Linked DNA regions of Homo sapiens: all the other regions are linked to region 2. The links are contacts of gene promoters, found by promoter capture Hi-C in blood cells and fetal thymus (Javierre and others, 2016). All regions are on one chromosome and are shown on one strand. Each heading gives the region's core, a stretch centred on a gene start or on the middle of the fragment in contact. The rest is flanking DNA. Distances are from core to core; before and after follow the strand shown. Region 1 has its middle 4.0 kb from the start of MIR1255B1. Region 2 holds the start of NWD2 (NACHT and WD repeat domain containing 2). Region 3 overlaps LOC105374399 (a long non-coding RNA gene).

Region 1 (3,729 bases), core at 420-2,919, 810 kb after region 2:
TATCTGTCATAGAGATGTGTAATCAGTGATCTTTGATTTTCCTATTGCAATTTTGGGGGGACACCATGAAAGATGCCTGCAGCAAACTTAATTGATGCATGCTGTGTGTTTTCTGACTGCTCCATGAACCAGCCATTTCCCAATCTATCTCTTTGTTCTCAGGCTTCCCTATTTCCTGAGACACAACAATATTAAAATTAGGCCAATTAATAATCCTACGATGGCAGAGAAAGTGAGAAAGAGTTGCATGTCTCTCACTTCAAATCAAAAGCTAGAAGGACGTGTCAAATTTGAGGTAAGCCAAAAGCTAGGCCTCTAGCTTTTGTCTTTGCTATTGTGAATAGTGCTGCAAGGAACATATGCGTGCATGTATCTTTATGGTGGAATAATTTATATTCCTCTGGGTATATACTCAATAATGGGATTGCTAGGTAGAATGATATTTCTGTTTCGAGTTCTTCGAGGAATTGCCATACTGCTTTCCACAATGGTTAAACTAATTCACATTCTCACAAGCAGTGTATAAGTGTTCCCTTTTCTTTGTAAGGTTGACACCATCTGTTACTTTTTGACTTTTTAGTATAGCCTTTCTGACTGGTGTGAGATAGCATCTCATGGTGGTTTTGATTTGCATTTCTCTAATGACTATGATGTTGAGCATTTTTTCATGTGCTTGTTGGCCACATGTATGTCTTCTTTTGGAAAGAGTCTGTTCAAGTCCTTTGCCCACTATTTAATGGGGTTGTTTGTGTTTTGCTTGTAAATTTGTGTCTTTATAAATTCTGGTTATTGAACCTTTGTCAGATTGCAATATTTGCAATTTGCAAATATTTCCCCCATTCTATAGGTTGTCTGTTTATTCTGTTGATAGTTTGTTTTGCTGTGAAACAGCTCTTAAGCTTAATTAGATCCCATTTGTCAATTTTGTTGTTGTTGTTGTTGTTTCAGTTGCTTTTGGAGTCTTTGTCATGAAATCTTTACCAAGTCTTGTGTCCAGAATGATATTTCCTAGGTTATCTTTCAAGGTTTTTATATTTATACATTTTACATTTAAGTCTTTAATCTATCTTGAATTGATTTTTGTAAGGAAGGGGTTCAGGATTAATCTTCCATATGGGTAGCCACTTATCCCAGCACCACTTATTGACTTATTAAATAGGGAATTATTTATTTCTCCATTGCTTGTTTTTTGTTTGTTTGTTTGTTTGTATTCTGAGACAGAGTCTCACTCTGTCGCCCAGGCTGGAGTGCACTGGTGCGATATCTGCAACCTCCACCTCCCAGGTTCAAGCGATTCTCTTGCCTCAGCCTCCCGAGTAGCTGGGACCACAGGCGTGCATCACCACACCCGGCTAATTTTTTATATTTTTAGTAGAGATGGGGTTTCTTCTTGTTAGCCAGGATGGTCTCGATCTCCTGATCTTGTGATCCACCTGCCTCTGCCTCCCAAAGTGCTGGGATTACATGTGTAAGCCACCATGCCCAGCCCCCCTTGCTTGTTTTTGTCAGCTTTGTCAAAGATCAGGTGGTTGTAGGTGTGCAACATTATTTCTGGACTCTATTATGTTCCATTGGTGCATATGTTTGTTTTGGTACTAGTATCATGCTGTTTGCGTTACTGTAGCTTTGTAGTAGGGTTTGAAGTTGTGTAATGGGTTGCCTCCAGCTTTGTTCTTTTTTCTCAGGATTGCCTTGGCTATTCAAGCTGTATTTGGTTCCATTTGAATTTGAAAATAGTTTCTCTAGTTCTGTGAAAAACATAATTGGTAGTTTGATAGGAATAGCATTTTATGTGTAAATTGCTTTGGGCAGTATGGCCATGTTAACAACATTTATTCTTCCTATCCATGATCATGGAATGTTTTTCCATTTGTGTGATTATCTCTAATTTCTTTGAGCAGTGTTTTGTAATTCTCATTGTAGAGAATTAATGCCTTCCTGATTAGCTGTACTCCTAGGTATCTTATTCTTTCTGTGGCAGTTGTGAATGGGATTGCATTCCTGATTTGTCCCTCAGCTTGGATGTTGTTTGTGAATAGGAATTCTACTAATTCGCATACACTGATTTTGTATCCAGAAACTGCTGAAGTTGCTTCTTAGATCACAGAGCGTTTGGGCAGAGACTATGGGGTTTTCTAGATATAGGATCTTACTGTCTGCAAACAGGGATAGCTTGACTTCCTCTCTTCCTATTTGGATGCCTTTTATTTCTTTCTCTTGACTGATTGCTCTGGCCAGGACTTCTAATACTATATTGAATAGGAGTGGTGAGAGAGGACATCCTTGTTTTGTGCCTGGTTTCAAGGGGAATTCTTGCAGATTTTGCCTGTTCAGTATGATATTAGGTGTGGGTTTGTCATTGGTGGCTTTTATTATTTTGATGTATGTTCATTCCCTAGTTTTTAACATGAAGGAATGTTAAATTTTATCAAAAGCTTTTTCTGCATCTGTCGAGATGCTCGTGTGTTTTTTGGCTTTAGTTATGTTTATGTGATGAATCACACTTATTGATTTGTGTATGTTGTGCCTCAACCTTGCATCCCAGGGATAATGCCTACTAGAGTGTGGTAGATTAGCTTTTTGACGTGCTGCTGGATTTGGTTTACTAGTATTTTGTGGAGGATTTTTGTAGCTATGTTCATCAAGGATATTTACCTTAAGTTTTTGTTGTTGTTGTTGTTTTTGTGTGTCTGCCAGATTTTTATATCAGGATGATGCTGGCACCTTAGAATGAGCTTAGGAGGGACAAGTCCCTCCTTCTCAAACTTTTGGAATAATTTCAGTAGGAATGATACAATCTCTTCTTCTTATATCTGGTAGAATTCAACTGCGAATGTGTCTAATCCTGGGCTTTTTTTGTTATTGGTGGTAGGCTTTTTATTACTGATTCAATTTTGGAACTTGTTATTGGTCTGTTCAGGGATTCAATTTTTTCCTGGTTCAATCTTGGGAGGTTGTATGTGTCCAAAAATTTACCTATTTTTTATAGGTTTTGTAGTTTGGATAGAGCTTTTCATAGTAGTCTCTGGCGGTTTTTTGTAGTTCTATGAAGTCAGTGGTAACATCTCCTTTATCATTTCTAATTGTGTTTATTTGGATCTTCTCTGTTTTTTACCTTATCAGTCTAGCCAGTAGTCTATCTCCCTTATGAATTTTTTCAAAGAACCAACTCCTGGATTTGTTGATCTTTTGTATGGTTTTTGTATCTCAATTTCCTTCAGTTCAGTTCTGATATTGGTTATTTCTTGTCTTTCAATAGATTGAAGTCGATCTGCTCTGGCTACTCTAGTTTTTCTAGTTGTGATGTTAGGTTGTTCATTTGAGATCTAACATTTTGATGTGGGTGTTTAGTGCTATAAGCTTCCCTCCTAACACTGCGTTAGGTGTGTCCCAGAGATTTTGGTATGTTGTATCTTTATTCTCATCATTTTCGAAGATTTCTTGATTTCTGCCCTAATTTCATTATTTACCCAAAAGTCATTCAGGAGCAGGCTGTTTAATTTTTGTATAATTGTATGATTTTGAATGACTTTCTAGTATTCATTTCTATTTTTATTGTACTGTGTTCCCAGAGTGTGGTTAGTTGATGTCAGTTTTTTTGAAATTGCCAAGGATTGTTTTATGTGTGGTTGATTTTGGAGTATGTACCATGTGGTGATGAGAAGAATGTACATTCCATTGTTTTAGGGTGGAGCATTCTGTAGATGTCTATTAGCTCCATTTGATCAA
Region 2 (3,761 bases), core at 1,074-3,573:
GGCATGACTGGCTCCTCCCTCCTGTTTGCTTTCCTAGGGTTAATCTGTGCTAAAGCTTTTATTCGAAGAAACTAGGAAATTTGAAGAATCATATGGACAGGCTTAAAAAAATGACATTAACCTTGAGTACTAACTCAATATTAAGCTGATAGTATAAATTCAGTATCGTTTTTATCTTAGAAATTGCAAATCTAGACAGCAAGAAAAAAATTACACATATTAGCAGAATTCTTATTGTATTTTAGAAGCCACAAGTTTAAAGAAAAAGAGTGATTTAGCTAGCTTCACATCAGCAGATTGAAACACATTTCACATGACTTTTTTAAAAGCTCAGAACTAAAAATGTCTAACATTTAAACATTTTCTAACATAATTCTCTCACTTAAAAATGTTCTAGCAATATTTTAAAGAAGTAACCCTCAACCCTTAAGTCGCAGATTGCCTTAAATAGGCTGAATATCTCCATTTTTTTTCTTTAAATCCAGATATAGGTACAAATCCTAGACGACATCTTTGAGATACAATGATTTTTTGAGTGTACCATATCATCCTAAAAGCCTCCTTAAGTTCTTTGAAAGTGAACTGTAAACTGATAAAAGGACAGTCGTGCCGTCCCCCAAGAGTATATCGTCTTTCTAATACTAATTAGTGCATGTTATCGTTTTGATTCTCTCCCCAACTCCTTCTCATAATGTAAGCTTTACCTCAGACTTCTGCTAGTGCTATTTTTTCCGAAACGGTAATTTTCTAGAAAGTTACTTTTGTTGGTCTTCTCCGAAAGCTTTTTCAAGAAACCAGAACCTTGGGTTTTCAAATGAGAATTATATCCAATGATCGTTTGAATGTGGACTTTTCTCCTCGACTCTTTTCGACTCAAGGCTTGTTAGAGTGCAGAAAACGTTAATTCTCAAATCTTTCACCTCTGTCAGTCTCCCATGGACTCATAGCCAAACATTTTTTTTCCTAGAAAAGAGCAATTCCTGCAGTTTTATCCTGCCCCAGTCAAATACATCTTTCCTTCCCCAACTCCCCAATTACTGGGAATGAAATCTAACGTTGAGGACTAAGGACTGGAAGGTAGTGATGAGCCAGGATTTGACCGCCCAGCGTTCAACCTCTGTGGTTGTGAATGCAACAAGAAATCAACAAGTTTTCATGGAGTGCCTACCAGGTGCCTTAAGCAGGAACATGACTGAGTAGGCCAAGTTTTAGATACAGAAGACCAAGCCCTGTGACCCAACTGAGATGAGCCCATCCTGCGCGCCCCACCGCGAAGCCTGTTCCGGGACCCACAGAGGGTGTCCCCCTCGACCTCCGGTTCACAAAAGTCTGCTTGGCCTCTGCAAAGGGCACCATCGCACCTGCAGGAGGAGAGTCTCAAGGAACTCACCTCGCCTCAGCTGGAAAAAGTGGCCAAGGAGGTAGCCCCGCACTCAGGAACCCGCCTCGGGGAGGAGAGCTACTGTTTGTGTTTGCGGTCATCTCGGAGAAGAAACCGCTTTAAAAAAAAAAAAAAGGGCGGGGGACAGGAGGTGGTGGTGGCGGCGGCGGCAGAATGGAGCTTCCAGAAGGGCCGGCTAATGCCTTGGATGTTTCTTGGATTGACCCAGGGGAATAACCCGGGGTGGAGAATGGGTGTCCTAATAGAAGTGTGCAGGCAAAACCGGCCAGCGAGGGGAGAAAAAAAGTGATTCAAATTAAATTCCCACGCGCTCAGGGCGGCCACGGCTTTAGCTGGAGGAAGGGAGCGCAGGGCGCACCGGGCTGTGGGGCGGACACACACTCTCCAGCTCCCGCAGCGCTGACGGACAGAAGGACGGACGGGCAAACCCGAGCGAGGGACGTACCTTCAGGGTTGGCGCTGATGAAGACCCGGACGCTGCGGCCGGCGGGCACGAGGTGAGAGGGCAGGGCCGTGAGGTTCCCAGAGAAAGCCGCCCGCCGGAGCGCAGAGTCTCGGGGACAGGGCAGCTTGGTGCCCGCGCCGGCCGGCCACATCGCCCTCTGGGAGGAACAGCCACTGCCGCCGCCGCCACCTCCTGCTCCTCGGGTTCCTGCCCGCAGCTCCACGGAACGGCTCAGCAGGCGGTCGATCTCAGCAGGCGGCGCGGCTCAGAGCCGCTCCGAGCCCGAAGCGCCTTTGGCGAGCTCCGTGGCGCACAGCACCCGCCGGCGAGGAGAAGCCATACGGACCCTCGGGCTCCTGTCGCGGCGGTCTCCTGCCCTTCTGGGCCTCCGCCTTCGCCCGCTGCTAGGGCTCCGAGCAGCAGCCAGCTGGAGCGGGAGGTCAGCGTGGCGGCGGCTACGCGCGCAGCGCCCGTTTGCGCCGGGAAGCGCCGGCGGCCATCTCCCCGCCCGCGCCCGCCGTGGGAGGAGGGGGCCGCCAGGCGGCAGGGACCGTGCGAGCGAGGAGAGCAGATGAAACTTTATGTACCAGAAGGCGTCCCGACTTTATCCGAGCCCGCCTCTCTCGGGCGCAGAAATAACTTGCGGCTTAGAGGACGGCCGGGGCTTGGGCGCGGGGGCCTCGGGGGTGCGCAGGAGCCTCCTGGACTCCTCTGTGGACAGCCGAGGGCTCCTGTCTGCCTCCGTGGTGGAGGACAAGAAATCAATTAGCCTGAGATTTCTACTACGCCCCCTCCAACTCTCCTAAAGGTCACACAAGCCCTGAGAATTTTCGGGAATCCACACGCTCGGGCGTCTGTGCGTCTCTGCCCAAGTGCAGGGAATCCAGCCTCAAAGTTCGACGCACACAACCCCAAGCCAGACCCGGAGAGTTTAAAGCATCAAGTCTCCAGATTGTCTCTGGCGTCCTGGAGGGACGATCGCTTCATCCCTATCTCTCCTGGCGCAGGTGGCAGCGTCCTGCCGCTCCGGTTGCTCCCCACGCGCGCTTGAGCGGGGTTTTTATAGCCAAGCTGCGCCGTTCACGTGCTCCTCGCCGCGTGGTCCCGGAACCTTTCTGGGAGCGGATCTCCGCGGGTAGTTCCTCCGAGGCCTCCAAGGTTCCTAGGGGCCTTTCTGCTCCCATCAAGGCGCACTCACCGGCTGTTCTGCTCGCCTGACAGCTCCCGGGCCCGTCGGCCGCCAGGTTGCTGGAGCCCCGCGCGGCCGGGTGCGCACCTGGGCCGGGCGGGAGGGTGTGGGTTCTCTGGAGCGCCCCCCAGCGCAACGTTACGCAAAGTGCAGGTGGCCGTGGATTGGGACCGGGGTGCGAGAAATCGGAGCTGGCTGTGGGCAGCAGCTTCTTGTGTGCGCTTCAGCCGCTCTTCAAAGTCAGTGCAACGCGTAGGTCAGCTCCACCTGAAGTTGATCCAGGGCGGCCACAGAGGACGCGGGGCCGTCCTCGGGTTCCGGGCTCAAGGTGGACGGCGCAGGGGTCCAGTCCACGTCCTAGGTGACATGAGACGCAGAGGGACCCAGATGTAAAATCGCCGTCTCCCTTCCACTCCACTGCACCCATGGAAATACTGCATAAGCCAGGACAGGAACGAAGACCTCGCAAAATAAAGTGTAATTGTGTTGGGGGCCAACGGCGCAGGGAGAAGGGAGTGTTTGTAGCCTTAATTGCAGTTTAGTCAATAAATCACTTATTCTGGGCTTCTGGGCAGGAACACCTGTCTTTTAGGGAAGAAGAACAGTTTTTCCAAATCTCTGAGATTGGGGAAGGGGTGGGCGGGCACAGGGTGAGGCAGTTCAGACGCAAGTGTTCTCTTCTTGCCTGGATGGTCCTAACCTAAGCAGCCCGGCCTCCTCTGGGC
Region 3 (3,715 bases), core at 618-3,117, 880 kb after region 2:
GGCCAGGCACGGTGGCTCACGCCTATAATCCCAGCACTTTGGGAGGCTGAGGCAGGAGGATCACGAGGTCAGGAGATCGAGACCCTCCTGGCTAACACAGTGAAACCCCATCTCTACTAAAAATACAAAATAATTAGCCGGGTGTGGTGTCTGGCACCTGTAGTCCCAGCTACTCAGGAGGGAGGCTAAGGCAGGAGAATGGCGTGAACCCGGGAGGCAGAGCTTGCAGTGAGCCGATATCACACCACTGCACTCCAGCCTAGGCAACAGAGCGAGTCTATGTCTAAAAAAAAAAAAAAACCAAATACAAAAACAAAAACAAAAACCCTGAAAAATAGAATTAAGGGAGGCCATGAAGAGAGGGTTCTCACATTTGTATGCCTGATAATGAAAAAGACTCCACAAAACCACAACCTTGCACAAAGTCCATCCAAAACTTACACAAAGAAAATGCTTCTGCAAGTGTATCTGTTCAGTAACTGCACATCTAACCTTGAACTGGCATTACTCACCCTTGTTATTGATTTTTGCAGCCAAAGATAATTATTTAAAAACAATTATCTAATTCTCATTAATTTCTTTTAAAAACTTTTGTCTTCCTTTACCTCCTTGGATATGCACATAGTGTACTACAGCATGCATATCCCTATTCTAATACTCTATTCCCAAATGAACATCTTTTCTCTTAGGAAACCTCTCTCTGTTATTTAGGTTGACAGCCCTAATATAGCCAAATAACTACATTCCCAGTTTGGCTGGCAAACAGAGTACTATGGAAGCCCCCAGCTTCAAACTAATGAATAGAGACTTTCCCACTGATGCTTCCAAATGGTGCATGGAAGGTTTAAATTTTCATCTGTTACTGTCACTCATGATGCAAATGTCACTGCAGGTAGGCTTTTGACTTTTCACTTGCCAAGGAAAGTATCTTTGCAGAGTCCAGGAAGAGATGGATGTGTTTTCAAGCAAGTCTCCTATGTTCACTTGTCAGATTAATGAACAAAGCAGATATTTCAACTAACAAAAGAGTGGGCATCCTTCTCTGAAGCAAGGACCACAATCCATCAGTCTAATGCTTCTGCCAGGGCTCAGGGAGAGGCATCCTCCTGTTCTTATTTACTTGGCCTCAGCATCGATCCAGGTGCTTTCTATTGGATAGAAATCATTCAATCATAATGCCCTTTAGAGTCAGCCTTAAGTTCCCTGTACTTTAACTCCCAATTTGTATGAAAAGCTTATCCGGATATGACATTTCTTATAAAAGCATTGACATTTAGTTTTTCTGCTCTTCAAATTTTTTTTTTCTTGAAACCTTGGCAGACACTAATTGCACTTCTGATCTATTTTCAGAAAACTGAAATAGAGAGCTGTGCTCTTATTTGATGCCCATGCTTTGTAGAGGCCCTTCTCTACCTTTTCTCCCTGGTAGATTTATGGTGCTTGACTCACATTCATTCCATGTACATGATCTACTTGATGCAAAAAGCAACCCTACCTTCATTTTTACCCACAGCACACCTTGTACCTATCTCTGTCCTAGCACTTGACACTTGGAGCATATAATTCTCCCACACAAGTATGATCTTCTTGAGAACAAAAACTGACTTATTTATCTCTGTATGCTTGATAACAGTAGATGCTCAATAAAATGTTTGCTGATTAGTGTGATGAATGGATAAAGACATAGATGGGCAGAAGGAAGGAAACTGCATGTATCAGAGTCAAATCGCTCTCAGCATGAAGACAGAGGAGGAGAAATCTGATTTGCCCCAGGCCCCAGAGAAGCAAAATTAATGAAACATTTATCTAATTCTCAATATAGCTGATTAGTGATGCAATGCAGGGGTTACCTACTAATTAGTCTTCTAGAAACACTCCTTATAAGTAGAAATTCTGAAAACCTTTTGACTAGTTGTAACTAGTTGATAATCACAGTACCATCTTTCTCAGCCAGGAATAATCAGGGTGGCACATAAGGTGAGATGGGGAGGTAATTGATTGACTTTCTTCCCACTCAGTCTGAGTTTGAATAAACTCAGTTGGTGAGACATATATTGGCATATATGATAAGTCAAAAGTGATTCAGAGATTTCCCAGAAATCAGGATAACTAGGAAGCCTTTTTTTAAAATTTGAGGGATTGCCTTTTGGCCTCTCTGCTTCCAATAAATTCTAAGCTGTAAAATGAAACTTTTTACTTCCCTATGTTCATCTGAATTTATTTTCTTTTTCCCTTATAAATGATAGTAATCATTATTTACTCATAATTTTTACCTAAAAACTGAGTTTCAGCTAGTCTCAAAAAGGCTTTTGCTGAAAATATATGAAAAACCACCCAAAAGAGCAACCTCACAAATAGGAAAATTGATGAACCTTCTTATGGTTGGAACTGAGAGAGGCCAGGAAGGTCCCATGCCAACCTCACCACCTACCACATGTCAAAATGTTTACATTTGCACATGGAAGTGTATACATTTCCATATTACATTTTTCAAGCTTTTGGAGGCCCTTCATGGGAGTGATAACACTTGCTAGTGTCAAATAGTCTTCGAATTGAGTTTGCCAGGTATGTGACACATGGGCTGTCATGCCATCTTCATTCTCCCTCCTTCTCCTACAGGCTGATCTTAGCATTCAAAGCCTCAGATTCCTCAGGACAGATTTCCAGGCAGCTGTCAGCAAGGGATTGAAATTGGCCTGCAAAATGATACCTGTTTGCTCTCCCAGCTCTAAGGAGACTTACTGACAGCTGGCAAATATCAAGAAATTCACCTATCTTGATCTCAGTATAAGGTGATGTAAGTGATCATGGAAAAAATCCCTGTGGTAATTCTGTGATTATCAGTAATCAAAATGTTAGAATGACTCTAAAGGAAAAGATAGTAATCTGGATGGCTCAACACTTGAGGGAAATGAGTGACATAAGGTTTTTTTTTAAAATGTATAAGGAAGTGTTATTTATACTTATTATACTTATTATACAATAAGAAATCTTCATCCTAATTGACTTTGTGTATAATTACTCCATATCCATTTTGAATATTGTCAAGCAGGACCCCAAGAGAAAGAAAGAAAGATAGGCGTTTGGTTTTCCCTCAGGAAGTGTTCAGTCTGAGGGAGAGTTATGTTGTTGAGCTAAGGAAGCATACAGAATCATCAAGCAATTGAATGAGTACAAACCCAGGACAGAGAGATCACAATTTTGTCTGTGAGATAAGCTGGGAAATAGCATGGTATAGTATAGTCACTTAACTGTTTTAATTCGGTGTTTCCCAAATCTCACTTATTCTTAAACCATCTTTACAGTTTTTTAGCCATTTCCACATACTACTGGTATAATTATTTAAATGATATTTAAAAATCAACTTGTTGACTTTTAAATAATCTTTTTATTTTAGAATTTTTTTTGTCTTAAAGAAAAATTGTGAAGATAGTACAGAGAGTTCCTACATACCTCACACTCAATTTTTCTTATTATTAACATCTGGTGTCAGGAGAGTGCCTTTACCATGATTAATGACTCAAGACTGATACATTATTATTAACTAAAGGCCATAGTTTACTTATAATTCCTTAGTTTTTTATTTAACTAATAAAAACATTACTTTTGCCATTACTTTTAATGGCAAAAACCACAATTACTTTTGCACCAACTAGTATTTTATATCCTTTTTATCTTCTAGGATCCCATCCAGAATACACAGTACATTTAGTCA

Evidence for each region. The method cuts DNA at HindIII sites, captures the fragments that hold promoters and counts their contacts. A CHiCAGO score of 5 or more calls a contact.
Region 1: a fragment that was not itself captured here is called in contact with the fragment with the promoter of NWD2 in region 2 in 1 of 17 cell types (M0 macrophages); the score reaches 5.6 in M0 macrophages.
Region 3: a fragment that was not itself captured here is called in contact with the fragment with the promoter of NWD2 in region 2 in 1 of 17 cell types (endothelial precursors); the score reaches 5.4 in endothelial precursors.

The regions. Positions count from the first base shown.
Region 1 is chr4:36,428,604-36,432,332 of GRCh38, reverse strand. No RefSeq gene overlaps it. Among named protein-coding and RNA genes, the nearest start is that of MIR1255B1, 4.0 kb to the right of the region's middle. The HindIII fragment of the contact is 1,536 bases long and covers 902-2,437 here.
Region 2 is chr4:37,243,305-37,247,065 of GRCh38, reverse strand. It overlaps NWD2 (NACHT and WD repeat domain containing 2), which reads right to left and starts at 2,323. Exons shown (of 7, transcript NM_001144990.2): 1 at 1,848-2,323. The coding sequence starts at 1,998. The HindIII fragment of the contact is 7,136 bases long and covers 784-3,761 here.
Region 3 is chr4:36,363,255-36,366,969 of GRCh38, reverse strand. LOC105374399 (a long non-coding RNA gene) reads right to left here. Exons shown (of 3, transcript XR_925195.3): 3 at 556-1,148. Among named protein-coding and RNA genes, the nearest start is that of MIR1255B1, 61 kb to the left of the region's middle. The HindIII fragment of the contact is 1,261 bases long and covers 1,237-2,497 here.